Regions from separate parts of the Homo sapiens genome. Here region 1 is linked to region 2. Evidence: promoter capture Hi-C in 16 types of primary human blood cells and fetal thymus (Javierre and others, 2016). All regions are on one chromosome and are shown on one strand. The core of a region is centred on a gene start or on the middle of the fragment in contact, and the rest is flanking DNA. Distances in the headings are between cores, read along the strand shown.

Region 1 (3,054 bases), core at 81-2,580, 100 kb before region 2:
AAAAGTGAGAAATGCGCATTTCTGAGGGAAATTAAAAGCTCCCTTTGCTACCCAGGCTGCCCCAAACAGAGGGGCCTCGGTTAGGATCACAGTGGCGCGATCGCAGGTCAAACATCCCCCACGGCCACAGCGAGGCCTGCTGGGCCCGGAAGAACACACTCCCAGCAATACAAGTTCGAGCACACCCGGAGCAGCACATCCAAGGAACGCGACGGCCGGGCGCAAGTGCTGCTCTGTTCCCAGGCCAGCCAGCCTCTGGCCTGCAGACCTGGGTGGCAGCCAGTGGCCGCTCCGGGTGGCACACTAGGAAAGTCCCGGAACCCCAGGCCCAGAGGGTCAACTGGTCAAATATAAGGCAGGGTCCAAAAAGTTCCGCTCGTAAATCCTCGTGGCGCCCAACGGGCCTGAGCGCTCATTACCACCAGAACCCATCAGGGACCGGCCCTGACTTTCATACCCCGGGCCTTCCACTGTGGGTGCCAGGAGCAGCGGGACCCGGGTGGGTCTCGAACGCAGGGGCCAGAACCCGAAGAAAGGCTTCCAGCAGTTGGAGAGGGACGCAAAAAACAACCTAGAAGGCTCCCGGGCCGCGGGTTCCCACCCACTCCGCCCTGCCCTGCGCAATCAGCTCGCTAACCCCACCGGCCCCGCGGGGCCAGCGGAGGAAGTCTCCGGAGTTGGCAAAAAGCTCTTAATGACTTAGTGTTTACAAAGCAACCAAGCCCGGGGAGGGGACTAGGTCCTCTGCGTACCCTTTAGACACAGCTACTCCTTCCTTCCCTCCCTTTCCCCGAACCCACGCTGGGGCCTGGAGGTGCCCAGCATGACAGCCTCTACGGGAAGTGGGGTCTTTGGGGAAATCTCTGCCTCTGCCCGGCTCCGCTGACTTCAGCTGCTCCCGCATGTCCCACCTGGGTGCCTCCTTGGCGCAGAGACCTCACATCAAAGCCACCAAGGGGAGGCTAAGGGATTCGTAGAGATGGGTGCCGGCAGCAGAACAGCCTTCGCACACCTGCCCGGATCCCACCGTCTGCCCAGCGTGCCCAGGACCCCAGCTCCTCAGAGATAAGAGCCCTCCTTGGCCAGGTTTCTCACCTTGGATGGTGCCACTGCAGGAGAGAGAGGCTGCTAGCAGGATGGCGGCCCCCAGCAGCCACGCCGCGCTGGGGCTCCGCATCCTCCTGGAAGCCCCGACGCCGGGCGCGCGGGGAATCCGCCGCCGCCGATTCGAAACTCAGAGCTCCACTGGACGCACCGAGAGAAAGTCAGCCTCTCACCTGCCCCGAATCGGAGCCTCTGCTGCGCGCCTCCCCAGGGCGGGTTAGGTTTCAGGGAAACCGAAGGAGCAGCGTACTCACCTGCGGGAGGCCACGCCCCGGGACCGGAACGCGCGCCCTGGTCCCGCCCCCGGCCCCCTTCCCTGCGCAGCTGCGCCCTCCGCTTCCCGGACTCGCGCCAGGTCCCTTAGACTGCGGGAGCCGCCTGCGGGCGGGGTTGAGCGCATGAGGTGTCTGCTTTGGAATGCAAATAGCAGGAGCGCTGGGACCACGGGTTAATCCCTGCCTAGGCTATACCGCGAACTACCTTTAATCTTTACTTACTCCTAGAGAAGCGGGTCGTCGGTCTCCCTTGCCTTTCCTGACTGTGGGAAAGCCACGATTCGTACTCACTGCAATTGTGGTTGGTAACTGATACAGACAGGGCTTCCCGGTGCGGTGGACCCTGCAGGAGGAGGGATGCGTTTTTTATTGTAGAGGCAGGTGGGCAACTGCGGACATCACGAAAGCGGTGGGGAGCACAAGAGGCGGGGCGGGAAAGAAGACATGGAATGGCTACTTTCAGCGCCAAGTGCCAAAGCTTTAGAGAATTATCTTGCTTAATCCCCATAACAACCAGCGCAATAAGTATGATTATTCTTCCCATTTTACAGACGAGGAAAGTGAGCTTAGAAAGACCAGATAAATTGGCCAGAGTTACACGACTTATAAACACAGTGTATAAATGTTTATCACATTTCAACTCCAGTATAAGACTATCACTGTCTTCTATTCATCGCTGCACTATAAATGCGTCCACCAGGGCTCCTCTGCATTGGGATCCCATAGGCTAAATAAATACAAAAGCAGATAGAAGGGGTGGGAGAAGAGAAGTGTGGGGTTGGGGATGAGTGCATGAGGGTTGGCATCATATTGGTAATGTCTTACTTTTTGTTTTTGAGACGGAGTCTCGCTCTGTCTCCCAGGCTGGAGTGCAGTGGCGTGATCTCGGCTCACTGCAAACTTTGTCTCCTGGGTTCAAGCAATTCTCTGGCCGCAGCCTCCCGAGTAGCTGGAGTTACAGGCGTGCACCACATCTGGCTAATTTTTGTATTTTTAGTAGAGGCGGGGTTTCACCATGTTGGTCTGGCTAGTCTCGAACTCCTGACCTCGTGATCAGCCCACCTCCGCCTCCCAAAGTGCTGCGATTACAGGCGTGAGCCACCGCACCCAGCATGTCTTACTTTTTATTTGCTTTTTAAAAGATTGAATAAAACAAAGTCTACTGTTACCCATTTAAACTATTGGTACCAGAAGAGCACAGAAGAGAGACATAGGTATTTTCAAATATTTAAAGGATTCGCTTGTAGAAGAGGATTTAGATGTGTTTTGAGTTGCTCCAGAGAGCAAAAATTGGTGGAAGCCACAGTGGGGTTTAATTTCAGCTCAATGTATAAAGAAATTTTCTTTATTTTTTATTTTAATTTCTATTAGAAAATAGAAGTGGGGTCTCCCTATCTTGTCCAGTCTGGTCTGGAACTCCTGGCTTCATGTGATCCTCCCCACTCAGCCTCCCAAAGTGCTGGGATTACAGGAATGAGCCACCACACCCGGACAGGCTTCTCCCCTTGTTGACATCTGTGTGATCCCAAGTTTACTTATCCTCTCTAAGCTTTCTTATAATATATATATATATACACACACACGTGGTTTAAAGGTTTATAGGTGTCTGTCTGAGGATAAAATAGTGACTAGTGACTGGGTTTGATACATGGTAGAAGCTCAATAAATATTTTTT
Region 2 (3,220 bases), core at 609-3,108:
TAAACTAGCCAAGTTCATCCACCTGCCTTTCTGTCTACACCAGCACTGTCCATATTAACATGCACCACTCCTGCCATGAGGATGTAAGAAGCTTGGCAGAAACCAGTACGCTTTGACTTCACTCCCTAATGAGGCTACACACCTTGCTGGGAGGCCACTGTGAGAAAGGGTGCAGCATTTCTATAAGCTCTGTTCTCCACCCCATGATCCAAATCTCAAACAAAACACTGGATTCTCAAGAGCGTGTCCTCAAACTACATTGTGCAAATTACATAATGGTATGTGAAATCATATCTCATCGCAAACAATTTTTCAGGAGTTCTCGGTGTTCTCTCAAACACTTTCGGCAACAATGCTCACTTATCTGCAGGCAGGCTAGTTACTGCTAAACACTGGGCCCCAGTCTGGAGCTCTTAGTTTTCCCAAAAGCATCTCAAAACTCACCCTGAACAAAGACAGAGAGGCGAGAACATGCTATGTCTTTGTCACCTCTTAATCTTGATGTGTCTACACTTTTTTTTGAGTGTGGGAGCAATATAGAGTGCACATTCTTTTAGCGATAACAAGAAAACCCGCTAGAACTTCTTTCAGCGTAAAAAAAATGGCTCAAAGCTTATAAAATACTATTGTTATTAGGAAATTCAAAAACACTTTTCTCACTTTCTAATTAGCGCCTTTACAGGCTAAAAACAACTCATCTGTGCTGCTCTTGGGGAAAGGGATACAGAAAATATTTGACCAAATAAATTAATCAAATTTATTTATTTGGTCAAGTGGCCAGATACTTAAAAATAGACTACTAGTGGGGAAAATATTCTAGGGGAGCAACCTTCTTGCAGTGGATCAGAAATCTCGTTAAGAAATACTGGGATCCCACAGTGTTCGAGGGAGCCCGGTCCTGGGGAGGGATCTCTCTCTTCAACTCACTTAGAAGGAATGGGTTCTAGGTAACAACAAAATCCTCTCCATGTCCCCTCCCCCGCCACCACGCGGAGCCTCTGCTATTGTCACCATATATCTCGCACCCTGCGCACCTCCTGGACACAAGGCCGGGCCGGGGGCTGCTGGTACTGATTCTCTGCTAAACATGCCAAGGGACTGCCTGGGCTTTTCTCTACATCACTTTTCTCGCCTGTAAAATGTGCAAGAAAAAAACTTCCAACAAAGCAAAACTTCAGCGGCAGCGGTTCGCCACTTTATATTTTAAAGATCGAAACGTTTATTGGTGGAGCAACGTGAGAGCTTTTCTTTTTGGGGGTGGTCCTGGGAGAAACACAATGACAAGTGCAACGCAGGACTGCAGGCTCCCCCAGGGGGCTTCCGCTCCATCCTCCTCCATATCCAACACCCCGTGGCAGGCGGGCTGCACCCTCCAAGATCGAGTCCAAAGGGGCATCGGCTGGGCCCGCGAAGGGGGTGGCACGCCCCACCTAAACGTGACTGGAAAAAACTCCAGATCTCAGCCCAAATGCCAGTTTGGCTTTCGGAGGAAACTGAGGCAGGGGTGAGGAGAAGGCGCAACAGTGACCCCCGCAGTCTCCCCTCGGCGTCCCTCCGCCCGCGCACCCCATTCCCGTGCATCTCTCACCTGGCCTGCGGGCCCGGGTGCGGGCAGACAACAGCGGGCCGCACAGACTGAAGCAGGCGGCCACCAGCAGCAGCCGCCGCGGCCCCATTGTCCCGGGCTCTGCGCGGCGCTGCTCCGGGAGGCTGCCCCGCCTCGGGCTGCTCCGCTTCACCCTCTCTCCTGACTTCTGCGGGTCGGGGAGCCGGTCTTCGCGGCAGGCAGAGCGCAGGGTGCCCACGGGTAAGATCAGGGTCCAAGCGACCCTCGGCGAGCGCTGTGTCTGGGGCGGTTAGCGGGGCGGGGCGGGACTGGGGCGCGCGGTCGCGCGGGCGCGAGCGAGGAAGGGCGCCCTCCGGCGTGCAGTGAGAGTCTCTGCGCTGGAGCCGCTCGGCGCCCCCTCCCCGCGGTCCCTCAGCCGCCGCTCGCAAGCCCCTCTGGCTCTGTGCGCCCCGCCCCGCCCCGCCCTGCCCTACTGGGGGGCCCTGGCCGCCGGCCACTGCCGGGCCTAGAAGTCCAAATGAGAAGTTTTTTCCTCTGGGCACCGTTGATTCGCGAAGCTGTCAGTGACTCACACTGGCGGGGTCCTTGGAATGGGGCCGCACGGCTCGCAGGCTGCTTCCCGCGGCCGTCTCGACCCTCCTGGGATGTGGAGACGTCGACAGTGGACGCCCCGGCCAGGATGCGTCCACGCCCTGCAGCCCCGCAGCCCTGGCGTGGCCTCCCGTCCTCCCTCCCTCCGTGTGGGACACCGGCAAAGTTCAGTTTTCGCTAAAAGTCTAAAAGGGACTTCTGCTTTTGTAACGTGGGGATCACGGATTTAAAAGTTTATGATGTAGTGACAGGGTTGCCCCTAAATGAGAAAGGGCCCTTGAGTCTGGACAGAATTCTTGAACTTTTATACGTCTCTCTTTATTTCGCGAAGTTAGGCGTTTCATACGCCGGGCACTCGTTTCCCCCACACGCAGACTGCGAGTGGAATAGGAAGAGCGGCTTCTCCCGCTTCCCCCCCGCGCGGCCTCGCGGAGCTCTTCCCTTTCCCGCGCCGCCCGCCGGGGTCACCTGCGCATCTGGGAGGAGGGCGCGCGTCTGCCGGTGAGGCCGGCGTTCTAGGGCCGCGGGCGCCCAGGAGAGAAATGGCCTGGTAACTTTCCAAGTGTCCTTCACACGTTCTTGAACGATATTACAGTTTGTTTTGTTTTTGAGGCAGGGTCTTGCCCTGTCGCCCAGGCTGGAGTGCAGTGGCGCCAACACGGCTCACTGCAGCCTCGATCTCCCTGGCTCAGGCCACCCTTTCGCCCCAGCCTCCGGATTACCTGGGACCACAGAAAGGCGCGCGCCACCATGTCCGGCTAATTTCACTGCTGGCCTCAAGCGATCCTCCTGCCTCAGCCTCCTAAAGTGCGGGGATTACAGGCGTGAATCACCGCGCCAGGCCTGATATTAAAGGAGTTTGGCTAAATTCAAGGCACAGGGCGGGGACACTCGCTTGGCAGTCTGCTAAGGGCCCCCAGGGGCGTCGCGGCTGGGGGTGGGCAGGAGGAGCCTGCAGCTTAAGTTGCTTTGCCACTGGCTCTGGTGCGTGCGCCTTTCAGACTCCAACAGGAAATGGGTCCCCAAATAGCTGTTTCTAGGAAAGCTCAGCCGCAGCCCCTT

The links. The method cuts DNA at HindIII sites, captures the fragments that hold promoters and counts their contacts. A CHiCAGO score of 5 or more calls a contact.
Region 1: the fragment with the promoter of F2RL1 here is called in contact with the fragment with the promoter of F2R in region 2 in 1 of 17 cell types (endothelial precursors); the score reaches 5.0 in endothelial precursors.

What each region holds. Positions count from the first base shown.
Region 1 is chr5:76,817,306-76,820,359 of GRCh38, reverse strand. F2RL1 (F2R like trypsin receptor 1) reads right to left here and starts at 1,330. Exons shown (of 2, transcript NM_005242.6): 1 at 1,096-1,330. The coding sequence starts at 1,177. RefSeq lists enhancers at 379-996, 997-1,614 and a silencer at 1,302-1,596. The HindIII fragment of the contact is 1,972 bases long and covers 1-1,859 here.
Region 2 is chr5:76,714,764-76,717,983 of GRCh38, reverse strand. F2R (coagulation factor II thrombin receptor) reads right to left here and starts at 1,858. Exons shown (of 2, transcript NM_001992.5): 1 at 1,589-1,858. The coding sequence starts at 1,676. RefSeq lists an enhancer at 1-9 and a silencer at 1,803-2,052. The HindIII fragment of the contact is 2,891 bases long and covers 615-3,220 here.